7 separate regions of the Homo sapiens genome follow, and all the other regions are linked to region 3. Evidence: promoter capture Hi-C in 16 types of primary human blood cells and fetal thymus (Javierre and others, 2016). All regions are on one chromosome and are shown on one strand. Each heading gives the region's core, a stretch centred on a gene start or on the middle of the fragment in contact. The rest is flanking DNA. Distances are from core to core; before and after follow the strand shown. Region 1 overlaps TMEM87B (transmembrane protein 87B). Region 2 overlaps TTL (tubulin tyrosine ligase). Region 3 holds the start of ZC3H6 (zinc finger CCCH-type containing 6). Region 4 has its middle 3.1 kb from the start of TMEM87B. Region 5 has its middle 17 kb from the start of FBLN7. Region 6 has its middle 17 kb from the start of RGPD8. Region 7 overlaps TMEM87B (transmembrane protein 87B).

Evidence for each region. The method cuts DNA at HindIII sites, captures the fragments that hold promoters and counts their contacts. A CHiCAGO score of 5 or more calls a contact.
Region 1: a fragment that was not itself captured here is called in contact with the fragment with the promoter of ZC3H6 in region 3 in 3 of 17 cell types (activated CD4 T cells, non-activated CD4 T cells and total CD4 T cells); the score reaches 7.6 in activated CD4 T cells.
Region 2: a fragment that was not itself captured here is called in contact with the fragment with the promoter of ZC3H6 in region 3 in 1 of 17 cell types (erythroblasts); the score reaches 5.8 in erythroblasts.
Region 4: a contact is called between a fragment that was not itself captured here and the fragment with the promoter of ZC3H6 in region 3, in 3 of 17 cell types (total B cells, fetal thymus and megakaryocytes). The highest score is 6.4, in total B cells.
Region 5: a contact is called between a fragment that was not itself captured here and the fragment with the promoter of ZC3H6 in region 3, in 7 of 17 cell types (activated CD4 T cells, naive CD4 T cells, total CD4 T cells and 4 more). The highest score is 12.6, in activated CD4 T cells.
Region 6: a contact is called between a fragment that was not itself captured here and the fragment with the promoter of ZC3H6 in region 3, in 4 of 17 cell types (total CD4 T cells, non-activated CD4 T cells, naive CD8 T cells and 1 more). The highest score is 6.9, in total CD4 T cells.
Region 7: a contact is called between a fragment that was not itself captured here and the fragment with the promoter of ZC3H6 in region 3, in 3 of 17 cell types (total B cells, activated CD4 T cells and naive CD4 T cells). The highest score is 5.6, in total B cells.

The regions. Positions count from the first base shown.
Region 1 is chr2:112,100,684-112,104,257 of GRCh38, reverse strand. It overlaps TMEM87B (transmembrane protein 87B), which reads right to left. Exons shown (of 19, transcript NM_032824.3): 15 at 3,563-3,574. Among named protein-coding and RNA genes, the nearest start is that of FBLN7, 36 kb to the left of the region's middle. The HindIII fragment of the contact is 2,744 bases long and covers 143-2,886 here.
Region 2 is chr2:112,513,365-112,517,379 of GRCh38, reverse strand. All of the region lies in intron 5 of TTL (tubulin tyrosine ligase), which reads right to left. Among named protein-coding and RNA genes, the nearest start is that of POLR1B, 27 kb to the left of the region's middle. The HindIII fragment of the contact is 1,945 bases long and covers 445-2,389 here.
Region 3 is chr2:112,274,347-112,278,407 of GRCh38, reverse strand. It overlaps ZC3H6 (zinc finger CCCH-type containing 6), which reads right to left and starts at 2,811. Exons shown (of 12, transcript NM_198581.3): 1 at 2,382-2,811. The coding sequence starts at 2,413. RefSeq lists a silencer at 2,042-2,521 and enhancers at 2,712-2,921, 2,537-3,109. The HindIII fragment of the contact is 12,828 bases long and covers 1,162-4,061 here.
Region 4 is chr2:112,050,145-112,054,189 of GRCh38, reverse strand. No RefSeq gene overlaps it. Among named protein-coding and RNA genes, the nearest start is that of TMEM87B, 3.1 kb to the left of the region's middle. The HindIII fragment of the contact is 755 bases long and covers 2,314-3,068 here.
Region 5 is chr2:112,119,870-112,123,403 of GRCh38, reverse strand. No RefSeq gene overlaps it. Among named protein-coding and RNA genes, the nearest start is that of FBLN7, 17 kb to the left of the region's middle. The HindIII fragment of the contact is 9,145 bases long and covers 1-3,534 here.
Region 6 is chr2:112,448,898-112,452,613 of GRCh38, reverse strand. No RefSeq gene overlaps it. Among named protein-coding and RNA genes, the nearest start is that of RGPD8, 17 kb to the right of the region's middle. The HindIII fragment of the contact is 707 bases long and covers 899-1,605 here.
Region 7 is chr2:112,082,828-112,086,866 of GRCh38, reverse strand. It overlaps TMEM87B (transmembrane protein 87B), which reads right to left. Exons shown (of 19, transcript NM_032824.3): 9 at 763-862. Among named protein-coding and RNA genes, the nearest start is that of TMEM87B, 30 kb to the right of the region's middle. The HindIII fragment of the contact is 2,093 bases long and covers 449-2,541 here.

The DNA of each region.
Region 1 (3,574 bases), core at 265-2,764, 170 kb after region 3:
CTGATGAGCATAGATTTTAAATTTTGATAAAGTCTCATTTTTTAATTTAATGGTTACTGTTTTTCATGTCCTAAGAAATTACCCCATCCAACGTCATTAAAATATTTTCCTTTTTTCTTCTAGAAGAATAACAGTTGAAGCTTTTCCATTAGGTCTGTGATCCATCTTGAATTGATTGTGAGATGTGCAACAAAAGTCTAATGATTTTTTTTCCTACACATTTATCCAGTTGTTCCAGTACCATTTATTAAAAAGACTATCCTCTCTTCATGTAAGCCTTGGTGCCTTTGTCAAAAATCAACTGACCACACATGCATGGGTTTATTCCTGGACTCTATTTTACTACCTTGATGGATTTCTCTATCCTTATGCCAATACCACACTGTCTGGATTGCTGTAATCTGAAATAATTATGTCTTGAAATCAGTATAAATCCACTAATTTTATTTTATTGAGAGATAATTCGCATACCATATTGAAGTACAGTTAGATTTTGAGATATTCACAGAGATTTGAGATATTCACCACTCTCCAATTTTGGAAAATTTTCATCACCCCACAAAGAAACCCCAAACCCATTAGCAGTCAGTCCTTACTTTCCCCCTCCTCTAACCTGTGACAAGCACTGATCTACTTTCCGCCTCTACGGACTTGTCTGTTCTGGACCTTTCATATAAACAAAATTATACAGTATGTGGTCTTTTGTGATTGGCTTCTTTCACTTAACATAATGTTTTCAAGGTTCATCCATGTTGTAACTACAAGAATGTTAAGGATCTTCTACGTCTTTTGCTTTTCCATATACATTTTAGAATCAACTTAACCACTGTATTTTTTTTTAAGTCAGCTAGAATTATAATTGGGATTGCACTGAATCTATTTATCAGACTGGGAAACTGAGAGCTTAATACTGAGAGTTCCAATTCAGACACAGGTTCTATCTCTACATTTACTTATTCTAAAATTTATCTCTGCATTGTTTTATAGTCTTCATTGCAGAGGTTTTACGTATTTTTCATTAAACTTATTCCAAGTATTTTATTTTTGAAGGTATGGTAAATAACATTTTAAACTTCACCTTCAATTGTTTTCAGTTAATATGTAGAAAAACAACTGACTTCTGTACATTGGACATATACCCTATGACTGTCACAGTCACTTAGTTCTACCGTACTTTTTCTTTTCTTTAGACTCCTTGGGATTTTTCCATACATAACCATGTTGCCTGCGAATAAACACAGTTTTACTTCCTCCTTTCCACATGTTCTTTCTTTCACATTCTTTGGAGTTTTGTTTTGCTTCTCTGCACTAGGTAGGACCTCCCATACAATGCAGAATCAAAGTGGTATGTACATACCCTTGCACTTTATCCCTAATCTTGAGAAGAAAGTGTTCACTATTTCACCATTAAATAGAATTTTAACTGTGGAGTGTTTTCATACCATTTTAGAATTAGTTTGCTGAGGCTTTTGTTATTTGTACCCACTGAGATACTTTTGTCATTTTTTTCTTCTTTCTTCTTTTATTTGTACTATTTTATTTTTATTTTTATTTATTTATTTATGTTTTTGAGACAGAGTCTTGTTCTGTTGTCCAGGCTGGCGTGCAGTGGCTTGGCTCACTGCAAACTCTGCCTCCTGGGTTCATGCAATTCTCCCGTCTCTGCCTCCTAAGTAGCTGGGATTACAGGCACACACCACCACGCCCGGCTAATTTTTGTATTTTTAGTCAAGAGGGGGTTTTGCCATGTTGGCCAGGCTGGTCTCGAACTCCTGACCTCAGGTGATCTGCCTGCCTCAGTCTCCCAAACTGCTGGGATTACAGGCATGAGCCACCGCACCCAGCCTTATTTGTACTATTTTAATATGATGAATTATACTGAGTGATTTTCGGAATGTTAAAACAGCCTTGCAACCCTGGGATAAAGTCCACTTGATCATGATTGTCTTTCTATATTTTGCTAGATTTTATTTGCTAATATTTTTAAAGAATTTTTGTATGCCCACTCATTAATGATATATTGGTCTATAAGTGGTCTATAATTTTTGGTCTATAATTTTTTCTTGTAACGTCTGTTAGACTTTGGCATTTCAATTGTACTGGCCTTTTAAGTACTCCCACCTCCTTTACCTTCTAAAGATTTTGTGTAAAATTAGAATATTTCTTCCATTTCTTCCTTAAGTATTTGAAAGGACTCACTAGTGAATCATTTGGGCCTGGTACTTCATAGGAAGATTTTAAATTAAAAAAATTTTTTTTAAATTTCTAATAGATCAGAGCTATTCAGACTTAGTGGCACAGGGTTAGAATTAAAATTGGGTTGTTATATGTATTTTTCAATGAACTTGTATTTTTCAATGAACTTGTCTGCCTCATCCAGATTGCCCAATTTGTTACCATAAAATTGTTCATAATATTTCCTTATTTACCTTTTTTACCATAGTAATGTCCTCTCTATCATTTCCAACATTAGAAGTTTGTCTTACTGTACTACAGTTGACTTTTGAATAATATGGGTTTGAACTGCTCAGGTCCACCTACATGCAAGTTTTTTTCAATAAAAGTTACACCACATATGTCTGCCTTTGCTGCCTCCCCTTTCCTTCTACCTAATAACATTTTCTTTGCTCCACCTACTTTATTGTAAGAATACAGTATAAAATACATATAATACACAAAATATGTGATAACTATGTTAACAGTAAGGCTTCTGGTCAACAGTTGACTATCAGTAGTTAAGTTCTGGGAGAGTCAAAAGTTATAAGTAGATTTTCAACTGCTCAGGAGTTTGGTGCCCCTAACCCTACATTGTTCAAGGGTCCACTGTAGTTTTTTCTTTATTTCTGGTTTAGAGTAGCTAGAGGTTAAGCCACTTTTCACTAAGCTTTTCAAAGTAATTACTTTTAGATTTGATGATTTTTTTCTATTTGTTTTCCTGTTTTCTATTTCATCGATGTATTAGAGAACCAAAACAGAAGGTGAAAAAGAATGTTACTAAGAGAAGCAAAAGTAAGAGGACAAAAAAATGAAACAAAGATAAAATTACCCTCAACATCTGAGTTACTTATTGATGTTGCCTTAACAGATGCTTAATTAGATTACAATAAAATTAATAAAATGATAAAATGCTATGTAGAAAATAACAGAAAGAATGAAAATATCATTAAAACTTTAAGTAGAAATGCTTTCAGCATGATCAGAAATTACAGGTGTGCATACTTTAAAAAGAGCAAGAAGATGCAACTCAAAGAAACTTAGCAATCATCAAGATGAACATTATTTAGCAGCTAAGCACAATATACATCAAACCATTCTTATGAAAAACAGTGTAACTATTTCAACATTTTACGAAATGAGTAACAAGCTCAAACTACAATAGTCTTGAAAATTTCATCACTGACCTTTCTGTTACTGTCTACCAAAATAAGGTTTCTGAAGATAAAAGTTTTTAAAATATTTTATAGAAAAAAACAATATATGTGACCTTGCATCACGGGTAAAGGTACAATATTTCTGTTGCAATATGTACAATGGTCATTTAAAAAGAAAACATATTACTCACTTAAATTTTCAG
Region 2 (4,015 bases), core at 168-2,667, 240 kb before region 3:
GCTAGTCGGGAGGCTAAGGCAGGAGAATCGCTCAAACCCGGGAGGCAGAGGTTGAAATGAGATGAGATTGCGCCACTGCACTTCAGCCTGGGTGACAGACCAAGACTCTGTCTCAAAAAAATAAGATAAAATAAAATTGAAAGAAGTATTACATTCCAACATAAAGAAAAACCTGAGAATCAGAAGCAAATCAAAACTAATTTTTTTTTTTTTTTTTTTTTTTGCTGAAAGCTCAAGATTAATAATACACTTTAAAGGATTTTTATCCCTCATCAGAGACTTATACAGTGCATCTTTTTTTGGCTGGAGTGGGAAGTTAGGGGGAGGCTAGCTGGAAGGAAAGAAAACCTGAGAGCTGCTGGGAGCATTTATAGCACCACAGCAGCAACACTCTGAACAGCAATGAACAATGCGGAAAGGATGCCGCAAACTTCCAATAAAGCTTTTGCCTAAAATAGGAATTCTTTTTCCAGCATATTTGATTTATCTGGTGTCAGAATTCCAACCACCTATATTCCCTGAAGAAATGGGACTCCAAGCCCTGTAATTATTCTACTGGGCTCTACGTGAGAATACAGTAAGGAAAAAGTCTCAGTCATTGTGACAGGGTAGCATTGACATGGTGGATGGTAGAACAATGGGACAGAATGGAGATCCTAGAACAGACGCTCACATAAATGGCCACCTGATTGATTGATTGATTTCTGAGATGGAATCTTGCTCTGTTGCTCAGGCTGGAGTGCAGTGATGCGATCTTGGCTCACTGCAACCTCCACCTCCCGGGTTCAAGCAATTCTCCTGCCTCAGCCTCCCAAGTAGCTGGGATTACAGGCATATGCCACCATGCCTGGCTAATTTTTGTATTTTTAGTAGAGACAGGGTTTCACCATATTGGCCAGGCTGGTCTTGAACTCCTGACCTTGTGATCCACCCACCTTGGTCTCCCAAAGTGCTAGGATTACAGGTGTGAGCCACTGTGCCCAGCCAGCCACCTGATTTGTAACAAAGACACACCACAATGCAGCGGGGAAAGGACAAGTGGCCCTGGGTCAATGGGATATCCTTGTGGAAAGACATGAAACTTGATATATAACAACTTCAGATAGATTATAGTTCTAAAATATAAGAGATAAAACCCAGATGTCTACCAACTACAGAAGGAATAAACTGAAATACTTATACAATGGAATATTACACAGTAATAAAAAGGATAAACTACTGTTATGTGCAATAACATGGATGAATGCCACAGATGTAACACTGGGAAAAGCTGAACATAAAACAGGAAATATGGTATAATTCCATTTACATAAAGTTTAAGAACAAGCAAAATGAATCTAAGGTGATAAAAGTCAGAAAAGTGGCTGTCTTTGGCAGGGCATTTATTTATTTATTTATTTATTTATTTATTTATTTATTTATTTATTTATTCTGAGATGGAGTCTCGCTGTGTCGCCCAGGCTGGAGTGCAGTGGTGTGATCTTGGGTCACTGCAAGCTCCACCTCCGGGGTTCAAGCGAATCTCCTTCCTCAGCCTCCTGAGTAACTGGGACTACAGGTGCCCACCACCACGCCTGGCTAATTTTTGTATTTCTTAGTAGAGACGAGGTTTCACCGTGTTAGCCAGGATGATCTCAATCTCCTGACCTCGTGATCTGCCTGCCTCGGCCTCCCAAAGTGCTGGGATTACAGGCGTGAGCCGTCGCACCTGGCCTGGCAGGGAATACATGTTTTGAGGGAGTTCAAAGGAGTCTTCTGGGATGCTGTAAATGTTTTATATTTTTATGTATATCACAGCTAGGTGAGTACATGCATAACTGAAAACTCACCAGACTGTACACTTTGTGGATGTTACACCTCATTTAAAAAATCTTTACTAGACTTAGTAAACTGTAGTAAGTGAACACTAATGCTAAAATACTACTTCCAGGCATATTTAGAAATAAGACCAAGAGAAAAAAGAGACAATAGAAACAGACCTAAAAGTCAGGAGCTGACAAACTTTTTCTATAAAGGGCCAGACAGTAAATATATTAGGTTTTACAGGATATGTACCACCTCTGTTGCATATTCTCATTTTTACAATCTTTAATATATAAAAAACATTCTTTGCCCACAGACCTTACAAAAACAAGCTACAGGCCATATGCAGCCCATACACAGGGCATACTCTGGATTACTCTGCCATGGGTAATCTAGATTTTGGAGTTATCAGATAAGGATGTTAAAGAATTGCCATTATCTTCAAGAAAATATGAGGCAAGTGGGAGAATTTCATAAGACAACTATAATATGAAAAAAAGAAACAAATATAAATTTCAGAACTAAAAAGCACGCTAACTAAAATCAAGAACTCAATAGGTGAGTTTAACAGCAGCTTTTAAAAGCTTTTACCTTGTAAAAATTGTTAACAGGTTTTAATAGATAAAGAAAGGATTAGCAAACAAAGATGTCAGACGAAAAGAATGAGTACAACCATGGGGAGATAAAATGATACAAAAATGCCATAAAAGTGTGAGAAACAGTGAAAAGCATTAACAATCATGTAATTAGAGACCTAGAAGAAGAGGAGAATGGATCAAAAGACACAACTGAAAGTATAATGTCCATGAATATTCCAAAACTGGTAAAAGATATCAAGCCACGGTGCAAGAAGCACTATGAACCCAAATGCAGGAATATGTACAAAGAAAACTACACACATCTCATAGTAAAATTTATAAAAACCAATGTAAAGGAATCTCAAAAATAGAGAAGAGATACATTAAGAGCAATACTAAGATTTCACCTGACTTCTCAGCAGAAAAGATGGAAGCCAGAATACAATGGTATGCAACCTTCAGAGTAGGAAAAGAAATTAACTGCTTATCTAGAAATCTATGTCCAGAGCAAATGTCCTTAAAAACAAAAAGACAAAATATATTTTCAGACAAATAATAACTAATTTATCACAGCAGACTTTACTTAAAAACTACTAAAAATTAGTTTTTTTTTTTTTGAAACAGAGTCTTGCTCTGTCACCCAGGCTGGAGTGCAGCAGCACAATTTTGGCTCACTGCAACTTCCACCCCCCAGGTTCAAGCTATTCTCCCACCTCAGCCTCCCGAGTAGCTGCGACCACAGGTGTGCACCACCATGCCCAGCTAATTTTGCATATTTTGGTAGAGATGGGGTTTCAGCATGTATCAGGCTGGTCTTGAACTCCTGACCTCAAGTGATCGGCCCACCTCGGCCTCCCAAAGTATTGGGATTACAGGTGTGAGGTGCCGCGCCTGGCCTAAAAATGAGTTTCTTAACAATAAGGAAAATAATCCTAGATAAAAGCAAGGAAATGCAGGAAAGGAAGAGAAACAACATAAATGGTCAAAATGTGGGGAACTCTAAATGAATATTAACTATCTATAATCATAGGAATGCTGTCTTGTGAGTTTAAAATATATGTAATATTAATTATTCCCCATGTACCCACCATCCACTATCTTTAAGCCTCTTCCCTGTGTCCCTTCTGCCTTCCTTCTAGGGATATGAATAACCACTATTTTGAATTGTATGTTTATCACTTCTTCATTTTGCTTTACATTTTTACCATACATGTGTATTCAGCTAAATAAAACATTATTTAATTTTACTTGTTTAACTTATGTAAGTGAAATAAATTTGTATGCATCTTCTATATAGCTTGTATTTTTGCATTTTTTTGCTTAATATTATTTGTATATTTATATTTATACTTGTATAAATATTCATACTTGTATAAATATTTATACTTATACTTGTATAAATATTTATACTTGTATAAATATTTATATGTATATTTGTATAAATCCAGTGAAAATACCCTTCAGGAAGATGGTGAAATAAACACATTCTCAGATGACAGAAAACTAAGAGGATTTATCAGCAGCAAAACTGTTCTAAAAAAATGCATAAGAGAGAGAGTCAGAACTTTAAAACTTAAGGAAGTATATGGGTAAATATAAAAACTCTAAAAGAAATGCTTAAGTCTGAAGGGAAA
Region 3 (4,061 bases), core at 1,562-4,061:
AAGTGGAGCTTGCAGTGAGCTGAGACAGTGCCACTGCACTCCAGCCTGGGCGACAGAGCGAGACTCCGTCTCAAAAAAATAAAATAAATAAAATAAAATCCTTGAGACAAAGCCTAGCTCCATATACCAAGTTTCATATATTTTTCTCCACTTAATTCACAGAAACTTTTATAACAGCATAAAATAGCTATTATATGGAAAGATACAGTATTTTGGAAGCCCGCAGATTAGTCCATTTTTTCCCCAAATTTCTTAAGAATTTCCCAGGGAGCCTATGAAAAATACCCTAGAGATTCTGATTCAGTTGCTCTGGGCAGAACAAAAATTTATTCCCCAAAGTGATTCTGATGATTAACTATCATTGGGAAACACTGATCGAGTATAGCGGTTCTCAATTTGGCACATATTAGAATTTCCTGGGGAGCTTTTAGAACTCTTAAAACCCAGGCTGAGGTCCAGACCAACAGAAATAGCGCCAATACTTTAAAGAAAAAAAGTTCCCCAGGGAAGGTTTAGAACCATTGATCTGATCTTGTAGAATTTCTCCTGACTTCTAGTTCACTTTGTTTTTGATGTAGTTGTTTTGTTTTTCATGTGGGTTGACAAAAAAAGCATGAAAAAAAAAAACCATCTCCTTCATCTCAGCACAATGATGCCACTTAACAATTGGCTAAGTTAAAGTGGAGCTAACCTTTTTGTTTCAGAAATCACTAGAAAATACTTTTAGTCCGAATTTTAAATAAAATAGACTAATCTTAATCTTTAGCTCCTACTACCAACCTATTAACATATCTTACAAATAATTCTTTAAAGTTTTCTAACCTCTAAACCAGTATTTTAAAATTTCAAATTCTTTAAAAGGTCTGTCATCACAGTTCCTTACCAGCAAAATTATTTTGATACTTGAATTTGATGGCATTGTTTTTTCATGATGTACAATACATAACTCCATATATAGAAGTTACTTTGTGCACTAAGAGAGGGGAACAGATATTCTTCCATATTAAAAAAAAAAAGGATTTTAGGCTCCATTAGCAAAACCCCATCATTGGTTTGTCCATACCTCAAGAGCAAGGTATTAGTCAACCCATTCTAAGAATTTCCTTTTTAATACAAAAGATAACGTTAAAAAAATCATTAAAAATGTGCCAAGTGCAAGCTTATCATTTTTAAAAGTGCATTTTACTTTCCAAAAATTTTTACACTTTGATTGACGTGCCCTCTGGGAATCTACTTTTATTATTACAATACTGAAGTTGTTGAAATACCATTTTTATCCCTCTCAAGATTGCTAGGTATTTAGATATTTCAAATTTCAGCAGTGTTTGTGATTTTTGCTTCTGGGTTTTAAAAAACGTGTTTAGGATGCTTTACCAAGCCGATCACATTACTACAGATAAAACTTCAGCAATGTATATAGTCTATAGTAAAACGTATATTTTTTCTTACTTCTATTCACAAAGGAGTAATTGTGAGGTTCTAGATTTTCAAATTAATATTCTAAGTAAGAATCAGATGCAATGGATTTTGTTTCAGTAAGTTTAATGAATGAAAGCCCCCCTTTCGCATTATTAAAGATATATACGAATGAAAATTTGAATTATAACCAAAATTTAAGTATGCTACAGTATACTTTGTAAATGTCCCCAAACTCGAATGGAAACAAGAATGTGCCTCTTAAGGCACAGAGCAAAAAATAAAAAATCAGAATCTCAATATTCAAGTGATACACACCATCTAGAAAATTGGGCTAGCCGGAATAATCCATGGAGTTTTTACGTTAGGGTAAAACTGTGCTAAACTAAGTTTCTGCAAAGCCTAAGTATTTTGTGTTAACATATTAAACTTGAAACTTGCCATCTCAAATTCCAAGGGATAAGACTGTATACAACAGATGGCCTTTTGGTGCTGCTTAAAACTTCCCTGAAAACCAAATGTTTATTTTTTTAGAGGTGTTCTCGGTTCTCGGGAAGCAGTCAAATATCAAAACACCCATTCCTGAAAATTCCTGGCTGGTCCTATCTGGCCGGGAGCACCGACACCTGGACGGGCAGAAGCAGGACCTCAGCACCGAGCCGGGACGCTGAGAGCCGCCCGGCGCACACGGAGCCCGCCCGGGGGGCGGGGGGCTCGCACGTGCCCGGCCGGGGGCGGGGCCGGCGCTGGCGAGCAGCGACCCCGGCTCGGGGAGGCGGGCGCGGCCGGGCCGACCTCCCCCGCGGCCGCGATCCAGCAGTTTACATAAGAGTGCGCGTCATGGAACTGACGGAGCCACACAGAGACGTCTAGGTCATGCAGGAGGCGCCCGGCCCCGGCCCGCTCCCGCCGCCCCAGACCCCTCCTCTCATCCGACAGAAAGACAGACAAGAAGGGTTCCCGACCTGTCGTGCCCTGCATGTTCAGAGTCTGTCATGTTTGGTCAAGAACGGGGCGGGGCTGGAGGGCAGGTCTGCGAGGCCGGCGGCGGCGGGGCGCGGGGAAGACCCCCCGCGCCGCCTGCGGGAACCTGCTCCCGGCCGCCGCCGACAGGTGACGAAGTGGTAAAAACTCACGGTTACTAGTGAGCGACACAGACACAGACTTTCCAGTCTATTAACAACCACGCCAGAGAGATGGGGCTCTAACTGCAAACACTGGGCAACGGCCCCGCGCTGCCGGCGCTGCCGCTCTAGTCTCTATTCGCCGCCGGTGGCTGTGGCGTGGGAGCGGGCGGGCGGCGTGCAGCGACGCGGGGATTTGGACAGTGGCCGTAACGGTGATTTCTCCTCACCAACATGGCGGCACCCGAAACAGGCGGCTCGAGAAAATGGCGCCGGCCGCAACACCTTGCCCGGGACTAAAGGGCAAGAGAGATTCCTCCGCGAGCCGCGGCCCTTGCCCAGCCCGCCGGGGCCGAGCGCGTTGACCATTGGAGGAGAGTGCCCGTCAATCACCTGCAGGGGCGGGTCTTCGCCCTTCTCTGTGCAGCGGCGGAGGCGGCAGCCTAGTGGCGGGGCCGGGCGGCGAGAGACGCGGCCGGATGGCTCCTCGAGTGTCTGCAGGAGGGGGAGGCAGCCCACGGGACCTACGAGGGCCACCAGCGCTTCTGCTCCCGGCGCAGTACGGGCCGCGGTTTTTCCTGCGAGACGCCCGCCGCCCGAGGAGTTCCAGACGCACCAAGCAAACGGGCCCCAAAACCGTTAGCCGAGGCGGGCAGGGGTGGGATAACAAAGAACAAGGCGGCTGTAGAGTCCTTAAATTTTTTTGTGAAAACCTTTGTTCTTGTAATAATAGGGAAATGCAGTTTCTCCTTCACAGTTGTAGCAAGTATCTGTTTTTGTAACGTTTAGTGTTCAGAATCATGTTTTAAGGAAAATAGCTTGCCATGCAGTTTTTTCTTGTATTTGCTGTTAAATTTACCCAATTATTACTTAAATAGGAATAGCTATTGAAATAATTATATAAACGTTACTTTATTTCGTAATAATATTAACATGTAAAATGTATGCGAGTATTTTATAAATACTATTAGGCATGCCTTTTTTTTTTTTTTTTTTTTTTTTTTTTTTTTTTTTTTCTGAGATGGAGTCTCCTCTGTCGCCCAGGCTGGAGTGCAGTGTCGCGCTCTCGGCTCACTGCAACCTCTGCCTCCTGGGTTCAAGCAATTTTCCTGCCTCAGCCTCCCGAGTAGCTGGGACTGCAGGCACGCGCCACCACGCCTGGCTAATTTTTGTATTTTTAGTAGAGATGGGGTTTCCCCATTTTGGCCAGGCTGGTCTCGAACTCCTGACTTCAGGTGATCCGCCCTCCTGGGTCTCCCAAAGTGCTGGGGTTACAGCCGTGAGCCACCGCGCCCGACCATGCATGAGTTTTTTATACTTATGAAGTGACCTTAAAAAATTTTTAAATGACAAGTCAGTGTTTTGGCCTATTTAATATATTAGTCCTGAAGGAAAGTTCCTTGCTTTTTACTAAAATGATAGACTCAATGATTAATCCAAATATCTGACTTAATTTGTCTTTCCTTAATAATACATTTTACTAATACATAAATGGAATGCATTCAAAAACAATTGCAATGA
Region 4 (4,045 bases), core at 1,442-3,941, 220 kb after region 3:
TGGAGTGCAGTCTAGAGTTCTGTTCCCAGGGTGTCTCCATTTCTTGCGTCTTCTACACTTACCCCTGCCTCGACCCTCTCAGCTGTATGGAAACCGTTCTTTAAATTCAGGGAATGTGCCAGGAAAGTGCTTTGAGGCCAAGGCCAGTTGAACACAAGGCATTGTGTTGTGAAGGTTAACGTTAATAGGACAGTTAATACTTTTCAGAACAAGTAGTTACTTGACTGGCTTAAAGCTCAGAGGGGTCAGGGCTTGGATCCGTCTTATTGTGTACCTTCCCTTGCATTTTCGGCTGTAAGCTGAATACATGTTTTGCTGTCAAAGAGAATTAGTTCATTCATTATCAAATGTAAATAATATCCAGCAAGGGAATAGAATCCTGTGCTAATATTGTTATTAACGTAGAATAAGATCGATTTATAGTCCAAAGGCCTTGGCTGCTTTACCAGTCACCAGTAATTATTGAGGACCTACTATACACTAGAGATTGCATGTGCATCTTCCCAGTAAGCAACGTGATCAGTTCTGTTTAGGTCAGAATAACTGTAACAGGACCACAGGGGAACATCCACCAGAGATTTAGGAAGTAAGTGAGGGACAGAAGGAGAGAACAATACATGAAATTTAAGTTCTACAAGAAGAGTTAAGGGCGAGTTACCTGTGGGAGTGAGGGGTAAGTCTGAAATCGTTTTAGTTACGAGAGAACTGGAGGAATGGAAAGATCTTCCAGATGACTGGATGTTGGTGTGAGACGGAGAGTGGCAAAGCTGGGAATATTTAAACAGTACCAAAACATACAGGCATTCCTAAATTAAGTTAGGCAGATGGCACCTTTAGTTAAGAACACTGGAGAGGCAATGATTTTTTGTTTTGTTTTGTTTTTGAGACTGAGTCGCGCTCTGTCGCCCAGGCTGGAGTGCACTGGCGCGAACTCGGCTCACTGCAAGCTCCGCTTTCCTGGTTCACGCCATTCTCCTGCCTCAGCCTCCTGAGTAGCTGGGATTACAGGCGCCAGCCACCACGCCAGGCTAATTTTTTTATATTTTTTAGTAGAGACTGGGTTTCACCGTGTTAGCCAGGATGGTCTCGATCTCTTGACCTCATGATCCGCCTGCCTCGGCCTCCCAAAGTGCTGGGATTACAGGCGTGAGCCACCGCGCCCGGCCCCAATGATGGTTTTTAAGTAAGGATGAGCTGATCAGAAAGATCGTGTTGGTTGTCAAATTGGGAAACAGGAGCATAGGAGAGCCAGGGTGACACCATTTTAAAAATAACTCCATCTTAAAACTAGCAAGGTACATTTCTTGCCAGTCACCACCCATGGTCGTAAGATGTTTACAGTGGCTGGGCACGCCTGTAATCCCAGCACTTTGGGAGGTCAAGGCGGGTGGATAGTTTGAGCTCAGGAGTTTGAGACCAGCCTGGACAACATGGCGAAATCCTGTCTCTACACGAAATACAAAAATTAGCCAGGTGTGGTGGCGTGCCTGTGGTTCTGGCTACTCAAAGAAGCTGAGGCGGGAGGATCACTTGGGCCTGGGAGGCGAAAGTTGCAGTGAGCCCTGCACTCCAGCCTGTGTGACAGAGTCAGAACCTGTCACAAACAAAAAAAAGAAAGAAAGAGAAAGAAAGCAAGAAAAGGAAAAAAAAAAAAGGAAAATGAGGAAGGTTAGAATGAACTATAATGCTGGCTTGCAACTGATGATATCAGTGTGAACTCATTTTTAAAATTTAGTTTTATAAATAGATGTAGATATGTGTGTGTGTGTGTGTGTTTATATTTTCTTGCACTGATTCCCAGGAGGACCTAGAAGCAGCGACACCCCAGTAGCAATAGGTACATCTAGCACCAGATCTTGCTTTATAAATATCATTCTCCACTAAAATAAACCAGGGATCCTTGGAGAAGTGGCTGAGCCCAGGAATGGAATAGAGAAATTCATGATGAACTTGAGAATCTTGTTTTGCCAGAAAGTAAGGAAGTGGGTAAAAAATTATGAGGACACGTCAAAAAGGCATAGGAGCCAGTTTGAAGGAGCTCCCTTCCACTTACCAGATCTGGGACAATTTGGTCACCAAAATGATAGTAGTGGATTGTAACTCATTGACTCAAATAGGAATCCATGAGTCTATACTAACATAAATAAATAAATGATTACATAAATAGGAAAGAAAATCACTTTCTTACAGTTGGAAAACTAATAAATGCAGAAGGAATAACAAATTTAAAATATCACCATTTGGCAACTATCACAATTAAAATTGATTCAGAAAGAATCATCAATTCTATTCTAAAGTTAGTTGGCAAAAGCTTCATGAGGAAATATCTTCCAAAAATTACTTATTAATTACAAAGAGAAAAACAGTAATTATACAGTGGAGATACCTGGCAGACACCAACTTAATGATCAAGGTTAATCCCACAAGGATTGGGACAAACAGACATGATATGTATCATGATTTGATTAACTGAAAAGAAACAGCATGACTTCTGTGATATTCCTGCCAAAAATGCATGCCCAAAATGCAAAAATGCATCTAATCAAGCTATTCAAGGAAATGAGGAAAAAATTCACATACTTAAATCTAATCACAAGGAAACATCAGACAACCCAAATTGAAAGACATTCTACAAAGTAACTAGCTGGTATAATTTACCAAAAAAAAAAAAAAAAAAAAAATATATATATATATATATATATATATATATATATATATATATATGCCAGGTTCTTGAAACAGCTGAGGAAGTTAGAGGTTAAAGGAGACCCAAGAGACATGATAACTAAATGTGACATATAGGCCTAGCAGTCTGGAGCCTACACCAGAAAAATTGTTTTTGCTATTAAAATTCTTTAGACAATTGGTGAAATTTGAACAAGGACTTTAAGAAAATGGTATTGTCAATGTGAATTTCCTGAATGTGAAAATGGCACCGTTATCACACTAAGAGAAGGTCCTCTTTCTAGAGAAAAGCACACTGAAGTATTTAAAGGTAAGCGGGCACCACATCTGAACTTATTCTTTGGTGGTTACAAAAAACTTTTTATATATTATATATATAAGCTTTATATATGTATAACATGTATACCATCTCTATCTATCTATCAAGATAATCTAATAAAACCAATTTGAATGAAGAGTATGCAGGAGTTCTTTGTATTCTTCTTGCAACTTTTCTTTGAGTCTGAAATCATTTCAAAAGAAAAATTTCCAAAACTAAGAAAGAAGGGGGTAATCACTCTGTGGTTCTCCCTGTATATATGTTAATAAAATTTATATGCCTTTCTAAGAAGGAGGAGGAGGAAGGAAGAAGGAAGGGAGTATCTCACACCTCTCACATCCCATATAGGGATCCAACTTGGTGTCCTCCACAGCAGATGGAAAATTTATGATTACTTGGTAAAAATAGATTGATAGTCAACTGATTGCCAGAGTGCTTTACTCATTCTCTTTTGAGTCTTATGGGATTTAGAAAAACAAACAAACAAACAAACAAAACAGCTACCATATAATTTTTAATTTGAAAAATTAAATCCTGGAGCAAACAAAAATTGTCCAAAGAACAAATAAGGAAAAATTTGGCAATAGTTGACTGTAAGCTAGAACTGAAAGGCCCCCATCAATAGACCAGTCCTTCCTCTAGTGGAGTTTATTGCAGCTGTTATAAAACTGAATCACAGTTCAGAGGTTGCTGTGCAGGGAAATGAAAAGGCATTTGAGAACACGAAGTATCATGAGATCCTGAATTCAGTGCTATTAATGAGAGACTTTGGGGTATGGCTAACACCAAAAATGAATAGATGCTATTTTTGCATAAAAAGCTGTACATTTGATTCATTGCTTTTAATTAAAATATTGGATTGTATGAGAAATTTTGAGAGTATCATATAAAGCACCTTTTCCACATACTTCCATTTGCCTTCATTTAACTTTTTCTTCCCTAAATCAAAACTGATTTTAGTTTTGAGTTGAGGCTTATGGATATGTAAACATAAAGGTTGTTTTTCTGATATTTCCTCTTCATGTGCAACTTATATATCAC
Region 5 (3,534 bases), core at 497-2,996, 150 kb after region 3:
TTCTATCTTCTTTTTGTTCCTCACACTGAATAATCTCAATTGACCTATATTCAGATTCACTGATTTTCTTCTACCTGCTCAGATCTGCTCTTGAGCACCCTCTAATAAATGTTTTGTCTCAGTTATTGTACTTTTCAATATAAGAATTTTCATTTGGTTCATTTTTATCATTGCTATCTCTATTGACATTATTTGGTCAAACATCATTCTCATACTTTTGCATTTATACTTTTTTAGCTCATTGAATACTTACAAAACAGCTTACAGTTTTTGTCTAGTAAGTCAAACATCTGGTCTTTCTCAGGAACATTTTGTTTTGATGCTCTTTTTTTTCTTGTGAGAGATACACTGTCATTTCTTTGCTTATGTCATAATTTTTTGGTAAATACTAGACATTTTAAATAATATAATGTGGTAACTCTGAAAACCAGTTCCTTCCCCTTCAATGGTTTGCTGTTGTTACTACTTGTTGTAGTAGTTGTTTAGTGAGTTCTCTAAACTAATTCCGTAAAGTCTGTATATTTTGTGATATGTGGTCACTGAAGTCTCTACTCAGTTATGTAATGGTTAGACAATTATTGGACAGAGACTTTCTTAACCTCTCGGAACCAGTAAATCTCCCAGTCTTTGCCGAGGTGCTTGTGTGTATGGTGGGGCACACCTTCAGCACTCATTCAGGCAGTTTACAACTAACTCTGCCTTAGCCTTCACTTCTTGTTTGTGGTCTTTGCTGAGCATGCAGAGCCCTATGCATGCATGTGACCTTTTAGATTCCTGTAAGTATGTTGAAGGTTTTTCAAAGGCCTTATGGTCATCTCATTCTTTAGACTTTCCTTTTAAGGTTTTTGGTCAGTCTGTTGTTTGCTTTGAATGTTATTTTTTGCTTTAGGCAGCTGTGACATTAAAAAACATGCCTGTGAATATTTTTAATAAGTATCCCCTGGAAAGAGGCATTTAGCACTGGGAAAGCTGTGACTCAGGTCAAATAAAGACAAGCCTTTCCAGCAGACTCCACTGAACCCCAAGAAAATCTCCACTTATCAAATGAAGAAACAGAGAACTGGAATTATGACCATGTAGAAACAAGAATTTGGAAGCTGAAAAGACAATGAAGTCATATGAAATGACGTAGCAAGTGGTCACCAAAGTATATAAAATGTATTTCAAGTTTTGATGCCCAGTCCAACCCTTCTGTGGCATCTCTTTCCCCCTGACAATAAGGACCAGAGGTGAGAAAAACAAACTAGGAGGCAGTCTTCAACCCTGGTCTGAGGGAACTGTAGCCAGTGACACTTTCCTGGTCCTCCATTTCCTCATTTGTAAGATGATCTTAGAGGCTCTTTCCAGCTTTAAAGTTTTAAAATATACCAAAATAACTGTTTTTCCAGGGCAGTGCTGTGTGAATTATTTTTAAGTTTTTTTCTTCATCCCCAAATTTGTTTAGTGGCATTTGGTAAGTAAATTTATAAAATCTGTAAAGGGAAGAATTAGAGAAAAGAAAAAAAGATTAGAACTCTTCAAGAGACATTACTTTGGCACCACCTGCTGGATAGCTTTCACATTTTTTCCTGTGCATAAACTTCCATTGCAGCTTCTTGTTTTTTCAAAATGATTTTAAGGAAATACTGTCAAAATTATTTACATCTGAAATCAGATATAAATCAGGTCAGCCTCTGACCAGATGTAAATATCAGGTCACCTCTGTTAATGTAGCTGTACATTCCCTATCACTTAAGGGGCATAAAACTTGCTCTGGGTAACTTCATCTTAATACAAGTGAATCAATCCTGGAATGTGTTTGAATTTCATATGCCATTTGTTTCAATTGAGTCTCAGTCACCCCTCAATCATTGCTGTACCTTTCACATTAACCTTAGCTGCCTCCTGAAGGCTATGCACCAGGCACTTTAGATACATTGTCTTACTTAACCTTCTCTAACAAGCAAACAGCACTTTGTTAACCGAAACTCCTCTCTCCTCAGGACTTCGAGGACAACCCTTCTAGGATGATTCCCACCAGTATTATACCAGCCTTGCCACCTGCCAGGATGGTAAACTATCAAATTATTTAACCTCTCTCTCAGTTTTCTAATCTATGAACCAAGGGAACTAATACTTCATTGGCTACTGTGAGAATACAGTGGTTACCAAAGCCTGGCACTCTGCAAGTGCTCCCAAGTCTGCCAAAATGGTCATCAGTCTTATGACAACAGCCCTTCCTTTCCCTCTGGGACTATCCATCTTGTCCCTCTCACTCCTCACATGTCAAAGGTGGGAGAATGTCCATGAAGAAAATTCTCCATGTCCCATCTACTTACAGCAAGATGGATTTTTTAAATTAATTAAGATTAAGCTGTGAACCAAGACACACTTTTCTAGATTTTCTGATACATAGTCTAAGGCACTATTATTATTATTATTATTATTATTATTATTATTATTATTGAGAGTCTCGCTCTGTCGCCCAGGCTGGAGTGCAGTGGCACAATCTCGGCTCACTGCAAGCTCCGCCTCCCAGATTCACGCCATTCTCCTGCCTTAGCCTCCCGAGTAGCTGGGACTACAGGTGCCTGCCACCATGCCCAGCTAATTTTTTTCTATCTTTAGTAGAGATGCGGTTTCACTGTGTTAGCCAGAATGGTATCGATCTCCTGACCTCGTGACCCACCCATCTCGGCCTCCCAAAGTGCTGGGATTACAGGTGTGAGCCACTGCGCCTGGCCAAGGCACTATTATTTTTACATATTTATGTTGAATATGTTTCTTAGAAAATTAGGGGTAAAAATTAGGCCCTAGGGTATGGTGGGTCCGCAAGATGGAAATAAACCCCGGGTGTCTGAGGGACATGTGGAGGAGGGTGGCCCTTCCCACCTCTATACCTACTGAAGAATTGTCACATGAGCAAGAAATAAACTTTTTGTCTTAAGTTTCTGAAAGGCTAAAATCAAGTTGTGACCACAGCCTGGCTGAGCCTCAACACTAACCATGTATGCCACCCCAGTGCTTTTCCACTCAATCCTTTCTCTACTTTTTTTTTTTTTTTTTTTTTGAGACGGAGTCTCGCTCTGTCGCCCAGGCTGGAGTGCAGTGGCCCAATCTCAGCTCACTGCAAGCTCTGCCTCCCGGGTTCACGCCATTCTCCTGCCTCAGCCTCCCGAGTAGCTGGGACTACAGGCGCCCGCCACCACGCCCGGCTAATTTTTTGTATTTTTTTTTTAGTAGAGACAGGGTTTCACCATGTTGGCCAGGATGGTCTCGATCTCCTGACCTTGTGATCCACCCACCTTGGCCTCCCAAAGTGCTGGGATTACAGGCGTGAGCCACTACGCCCGGCCTTTTTTTTTTTAAATTATCTTTATTTCAAAATAATAATTAATTATGTAATTATTTATGTAATTAAGAATTATGTAATTACTTAATTCTGTAACTTTACAGAAAAGTTGGAAGATAGAATGCATTTTTTCTGAACCATGAGAGTAAGTTGCTCTACCTTATTTTTACATAGATAAGCATTCACATATGTGCCACTGCATC
Region 6 (3,716 bases), core at 3-2,502, 180 kb before region 3:
TAAGGGCATAACCCCAAAGTCACATGACTTTATTCCATATGTGTGCCTTTAGTCAGAATGTAGTCACACTACCAATCTAGCTAAAAAGGAGTCCAGAGAACGTAATCTCTGACAGGTTGGCCTATTCTTAGATAAAACTAATGGGAAGAAGAGAAATGGACACAGGAAGTTGGTAATGAGCCTTCAAGATGGCCCCCAATAATCCCTGACACCTAGTATTTACAATCTTGTGTAGTCCCCTCCCATGTTACACTAAGTTTAATCTGTGTGTCCAACATCATAGGCAAGAGTGATAGCATGTCACGTCTGAGAATAGATTACAAAAAGACGACAGCCAGTCTTGAGATCTCTCTCTGACCACTTGCTCTGGGGGAAGCCAGTTGCTATGTTGTGAGGTAGCCCTGTGGAGAAACCTATATGGAAAGAACTGAGTGTCTGGCCTCCCAACAACCATACAGTGAGCTTGGAAGTGGATTCTCCAGCCTCAGTCAGGCCTTGAGATGTTGCAGCTCAGGCGGATAGCTTGACTACACCCTCGTGAGACACTCTGAGCCAGAACCACCCAGCTAAGCTGCAGGTGGATTCCTGATCCTCAGAAACTGAGGTAATAAATGCTTGTTATTTTAAGCTGCTATGTTTGAGGGTAATTATTACACACTCTGTTGCTGCATAACGAATTGCTCCAGAGCTTAGTGGCTTAAAACCCCTACGTTTATTAGCTCATAGATTCTTTGAGTCAGGAATCTGGACATAACGTAGCTGGATCCTTGGGCTCTGGTTGCAGTCAAGGTGTCAGCAGGGCTGCAGTTACCTTCAGGCTTGATTAGGGATAGATCAGCTTCCAAGCACTCTCACATGGTTGTTGGCCAGTTTCTACATGGGTTATTAGACTAAAGCTTCAATTCCTCAAAAGCTGTTGGCTGGAAGCCTCTCTTGGTTCCTTACTACATAGGCTTTTCCATTGGGCAGTTTACAACATGCCTGCTGGCCTCACTACAGTGAGCAAGAAAGAGGGTAAGAGATGGTAAGCAAGAAAAAAGCCACAGTCTTTTGTAACTTAATCTTTGAAGTAATATTGTCAGAGGTGTTTGAACCAGAGCGACTCCATATTGAATAGGGGCTGGGTAAAATTAGGCTGAGACCTATTGGGGTGCATTCCCAGGAGGTTAGGCATTCTTAGTCATAGGATGACATAGGAGATCAGCACAAAGTACAAAGACCTTGCTGATAAAACAGTTTGCAGTAAAGAAGCCAGCCAAAACCTACCAAACCCAAGATGGCAATGAAAGTGACCTCTGGTCATTCTCACTGCTCGTTATCCACGAATTATAATGCGTTAGCATGCTAGAAGACATTCCCATCAGTGCCATGACAGTTTACAAATGCCTTAGCAATGTCTGGAAGTTACCCTGCATGGTCTAAAAAGGGGAGGAAACCTCAGTTCTGGGAATTGTCCTCCCCTTTCCTGGAAAACTCATGAATAATCCACCCCTTGTTTAGCATATAATCAAGAAAGAACCGTAAGTGTTCTTAGTCGAGCAGCCCACACCACTGCTCTGCCTATGGAGTAGCCATTCTTTTATTCCTTTACTTTCTTAATAAGCTTGCTGTCACTTTACTCTATGAATTCACTTTGAACTCTTTTTTTGTGTGAGATCCAAGAACCTTCTCTTGGGGTCTGGATCGGGACCCCTTTCCAGTAATAATATTCCATCACTTTTTCCATATTCTATTCATGAAAAGCAAGCAACAGGTCCAGGCCACACTTAAGGGGAGGGGATTACACAAGAGGTTGAATACCAGGAAGTGGAGATCACTGGAGACCATCCTAGGAAGCTGCCTACCATAGTCTGCTCTCTGGTCCCCAGTGATTCACATCCCTCCCTCATGGCAAATACATCTACAACTCTCCAAGAGTCCCCAGAGCCTCACCTCATAACATCAGCTCTAAGTCCAGAATCCCATCATCTAAATCAGGTCCAGGTATGGTTGAGATACATCAGGTGTAGTTCCCCAAGTACAGCTCCTTAAGCACAGTTCCAATTGATCTGTGGATTTCTGAAGCTAAAGAGACGAGATACCTGCCCACCTCCCACACCCAATGTATTAGTCTGTTCTCATGCTGCTAATAAAGACATACCTGAGACTGGGTAATTTACAAAGGAAAGACGTTTAATTGACTCACAGTTCCACAGGGCTGGGGAGGCCTTACAATCATGGTGGAAGGCAAGCGGGGGGAGTAAATCCACGTCTTAAATGGTGACAGACAAAGAGAGAATGAGAGCCAAGTGAAAGGGGAAACCCGTTATAAAACCGTCAGATCTCATGTGACTTATTCACTACCACCAGAACAGCATAGGGGAAATTGCCCCCATGATTCAATTATCTCCCACTGGGTCCCTCTCACAACATATAGGTATTACGGGAGCTACAATTCAAGACAAGATTTGCTTGGGAAAATAGCCAAACCATATCACCCAATATACGATGGTGGGACAGGCACAAGATAATCTCTACACACAAAAAAGGGGCAAATAGGAGGCACACAGGTGTTACTGGTCCATAGCAATTCTGAAATCCAAATTTTAGAACTCAGTCTCATTCCTGCTAAAAATAATTCTCCATGGCTCTTGGCTCCATCCTCTGGACTCCTTATTTTTGCCCTCTGAATCATCCTTTTTTTTTGGAGACACAGTCTCACTCTGTCACCCAGGCTGGAGTGTAGTGGCGCAATCTCGGGCTCACTGCAACCTCCACCTCCCGGGTTCGAGTGATTCTCCTGCCTCAGCATCCCGAGTAGCTGGGACTACAGGCTCCCACCACCATGCCTGGGTGATTTTTGTATTTTTAGTAGAGACGGGGTTTCACCATGTTGGCCAGGCTGGTCTTGAGCTCTTGACCTCAAGCGATCTGCCCTCTTCAGCCTCCCAAAGTGCTGGGATTACAGGTGTGAGCCACTGTGCCCGGACTTTTTTTTTTTTTTTTTAAAGAAAAGGTAGCATCTGTTTTCTCAGCCTGCTTCCTGCTAGAATTTTGGAGGTCCAACAATTCCTTTTTATGTTGTACTGGGTCTGCCTTTTCCACTCCAAACTGACACACAGATTTCTCAGGAAATTTGTGGGTCTTTTTGTTTGCTTGCATAATGTGTTAACTACATTAGACGAAACCCTACAAATCTCTCTGGATAAACCCTTCACTATCTTGAGCTTCTGCTGAGAGGCTGAGGAAAAATACTCTTAAGCTCCCTAGAGGTTTAATTGTTTGAGACAATCTGAGAGCAACACCTTTAATCTCTTTAAAGGGACCTTTGTGTGACTGAATATGACTGTGATCCTTTGGTCTCTCTGAGATTTTAACATTAGATTGTATATACATAGAAATAGGTAACTAATGCAGGCAGCGTTTAGCATTCTCCACTATATAGTGGATATAAAGGCAATTCCCTCTCATTATTCTTTGACTTAGTGTCTTGGTGATTCTGAAGCATTTATTTTTCCATGTAATTTTTGAAATCCTTTTAGCTAGCTCAAACATATTGTGTAAGAACTGCAGCAATATCCATACATTATTAATGTTGGGAGGATTTTTATTCCTATGATAGCGAGTCTCCCCATTCAGATACGGTGTCTCTCAATGTACTTAGTTTTAACGTCCACTACAAAATTTTATTCAAGTTAAACTCATGTCCCTGATGTTATTTTTATTTCACTTTGAAT
Region 7 (4,039 bases), core at 246-2,745, 190 kb after region 3:
AAGAGCAGGAGAGGTGGGGAGGTGAGGTCAGGTTACTTAAAGGGTCATGCACATGGCTCCTGAGACCCCATGGCCTTCTGACAGATGAAATGCTGAGGACGACACCTGTGAAGCCAGTGCCCACAGAGCTGAGGAATGAGGGAGGGTCTGGAAGCTCACAGTGACCACAACAAGATGCAGCAGGTGACCCAGCCTGAAGAGTGAGCTTCTGGGAATCAGGGTTTTAGGAAAGAAGCAGGAAGAAAGGTCTGAAAAAACACAACAAGGATAGAAATCAAGTTCTCCCATAGTTATGCCCAGTGATTCACAGGTGAGAGGAGGAAAAGACCCGCCGGAGAAGGTCCAGAAGCAGAGTCCTTGAGGGACAGACAGGTTTCAGTCAGAAGTTTTGCTGACTTGGTGTTTAATCCACTCTCTCTTCCAACACTCAGATAGGACCATAAAAGCTTAATGATACTGTCTAAATAACAGAAAAGGGTTTGAAAATGGTTTGAATTATTTTAGATTTTCCATTATCCTTAAAGTTGATTATTTATTCATCTAACTATATAAAGTTATTGAAATAAAAATTCAGGGTCTTTATTGGAAGATAACATAAAATAGCAAGTATGTGGAAATCTTTTAAAAATGTGTTCTTGTAGATTTTTCCCAAAGGGATTTGTACTACAATACTTAGAAGTTCCATTTTCACAAAGGTCATAATGTAGACGGACTGAATCACTGGGCTGGGACCCAGCATTTTTCCCACACGCCAGTACTTACTTCACAATGCCATAGCCCAGGCTCACAATGATCACGAGAAGGCGAGCCAACGTCCTCTTAATCGCAGAAATCAACTCCGCAAATATCAATAAGCCTTGGGCTGAGGAAGAAAAAAATAAAATAATTCACTTTGTCTACACCTGGAAGCCTGCCAACCAAGATTCTCAACAACATGTCCTGTGTATAACTACATTCGAACTTCAGACCAATCAGCCACATTTGATTTAAAAGTCACTGAATCCAACTGATGCTTGAAAACTTCAGTGAAGGATTCATACTCGCCTCAAGAATTCACTCCCTATCTATCTAATCTGCTCCACTGGGCACAGCTTTCTTCTATCAGCCCGAACACTGTCTCCCTGAGCTTCCCTCTGTTCTTGCTCTTTACAGAACTCTCTCTTCTTGTCCTGTAAATATTTAAAAACCACAACATCCTCTAGAGTTCTCTTTTCTCCAGGATCTCCTCATCATGTATTCATTTAAAATGTATCTGATATGCTCCTACTGTGTGGCTATAATAGTGAAAAAGACATCTTGATCCCTGCCTTCATGGAGCTTGTACTCTGGTTAGGCTAAGTAAATAGAACTCAGTGTGGTAAGAGCAAGAGGTAACACATCATCCCTCCAGACTTGGAAGAAGGCCAGTCTAATCTACACCTGGGGGAACTAGAATTGGGTCCTGAAAAACTCAGAAAAAGTGACATCTAAATCAGGACTTGAAGGCTAAGTAGGAGTTAAGTATTTGGGGGTGGGGGATGACAAAGCAAAGAACACGGCACGTGCAAAGGCACAGAGAAGAAAAGAGGAAAAGCAAACTATGCTGCAAGAAGTCAAAGTTCATTATGCCTGCAGCAGAGAGTGTAATGGTAGATGTCAAGAAAAGAGGCTGGTCATAAAGGCAGGGACCAATCATGCAGTTTGGAGCCCCTGTCATGGAGTCTGGACTCGATGTTAAGGGCAGTGGGAAGTCAATAACAATAAACAAAAGAACAAAGGAGGGATTGGTAAACTATGGCCCATGGGCCAAATCTGGCCCTACATCTGATCTGTTTTTGAACATAAAGTTTTATGGGAACACAGCAATGCTCATTTGTTTGCATGTTGTCTATGGCTGCTTTTATGCTTTGATGGCAAGGGTGAATAGTTACAACAGAGACCATATGGCCTGCAAAGCCAAAATATTTCCTCTATGGCCTTGACAGAAAAAATGTGCTGACTGCTGGAATAAAATGGATGGCTTTATTTTATCAAGATTGCTCTACCTACAATGGTTTGGAGAGGAACAAAACTGCAGGCAAGGAAAATGCTCAGGAGACTATTCCAGAAAACTAAGAGATGATGAGAGTACCGGCAGTGATCACAGAGAGAAGCAGAAAGATTCAGAAAGATATTCAGAAAATATGGTGGCAAAACCAGTTGTGAATCCATCTGATGTTTTCAGTTCACACTGTTTTCAGCTCCATCTTGCCTGCAAGAACTCACAAGAGACCTTGTCAAATGCCTCGAAGATAGATCTAGAACTACAGGCAGAGCAAGAAGCCAAGAAAGATGTGAAAGATGGTCCTGAGGTCTCCTGGCAGTATCATGCAGCGAGAGGAACACCTGGAAGGGCAGCAAGTGTGGGCTGGGGCGAGACCGCCACACAAAGGCAGAAAGGATGAGCTCCCTTTTTGCCATTCAGAGGTTGAGAAGATTGCAAGGCATTGAGAAGCTGTTTTGTAGGTGACTGGATATATATGTCTGTAGCTCAGGATAGAGAGTTCCACAGGAGAGAAAGCTTTAGGAGGAAAACAATGGATGAGCTCTCCGAAAGAGTGCAGAATGTAAAGAAGGGGTTTATCATCACAAATGTTGAGGGATGAGTGTGCTGTCAATCCCTCCATGGGCTGTCTATACTCCTCTTGAGGTAATGTGACTACAACGTTTCTGGTACAGTGTGGCCTGTACAGCAAGATTCTCAACTTTCCTTCCAGGCTCCTGCTGCAATCTGAGGTTGTGGGAGCTTGTGGGAGGCAACTACCCTATTATTGCCTATGTTGAGTTTGCTTTTCATCAGCTTCAATTTTTAAATTCTTTTTAAAACTTTTCCATTGGTATTTTTGCAATTTGTACTCCAAACCTAAGTTCAAGATCATCAGATTTCACCTTTCTATTCAGCATGTCAACTCTCTTGCCTCTCATCACATATCTTCAAGTGAAAAGGGTCTATCTAAAATGATTCTCTATGCCCCTAAGTATTTACGACCCTGGCCAGCCTCACATCATCCACAAAATTTAAGAGAATGCTGTCTACATAGTCACACAATAAATGTTAGTTGAACAAACCAACAGATTCACAAGAAGAATAAAACAGCAACAAGGCCTAAAATCTGAGAGAGACACCATTCAAAGCCTCCTAGCTCAATGGTTCTCAACCCTAGATGCATATTGGAATCACCTGGAAGCCTCTACACAGCCCCACTTCCTAGGTCTGCCCTAATCAGACTCTCTGGCACTGGTACCATTTTAAAGTTCTTCAAGTGATGCTGATGCAAAACCAGGGATGAGAACCATTGCTCCAGACCAGTGCTGTCCCACAGACCCTTTTGCAATGATGGAAGTGGTCTACCTCTGTGCTGTCCAATACAGCAGTCACTGGTCACCTGTGGCTACTGAGCACTTGAGATGAAGCTAGAACAACTGAGGAACTTAATTTTTAATTTAATTTAATTTTACTTAAGTACCCAGATGTGGCTTGTGGCTACCACAGAAAACAGCAGCGGTCTAGACTGACCAGTGATTATCTCCATGAACTCTTTAGATATGGCAGCACCACCAGTTTTCAGCTCATCTTGTCCACAAGAAGTCACAAGAGACCTTGTCAAATGCCTTGAAGAAGTCAGCTATACTAAGTTTACTACATCTTCCTGTCAATCTAGCATCCCAAAACAAAAAAATTAGTCTGACATGATATTCTTAACATACCCACGTCGGGTCCTAACAGTCAATGCTTCTCATCCTTCTAATGATTTTTCTAAATTTGATGCTTCAAGATCAATGCTGGGCAAGACAGCCCCTGTCACAGAATTCCCACTTGGGAAAATCAGAAAGGACATCAGCTCCTGCCCACCTCTCCTATTGGACGGGACTCCTGAAAGACCCTGACAGCGGTCTGGGTATCTCTTCCAAGCCCTCTAGTGCCATCTCAGACAGCTTAGATTCCCTGAGGATGGCAGATGGCCTCTTACCTCTTCATGGATCTCAGGTTTTTGCTGCTCCTCACTAAAGTCCATGCCAC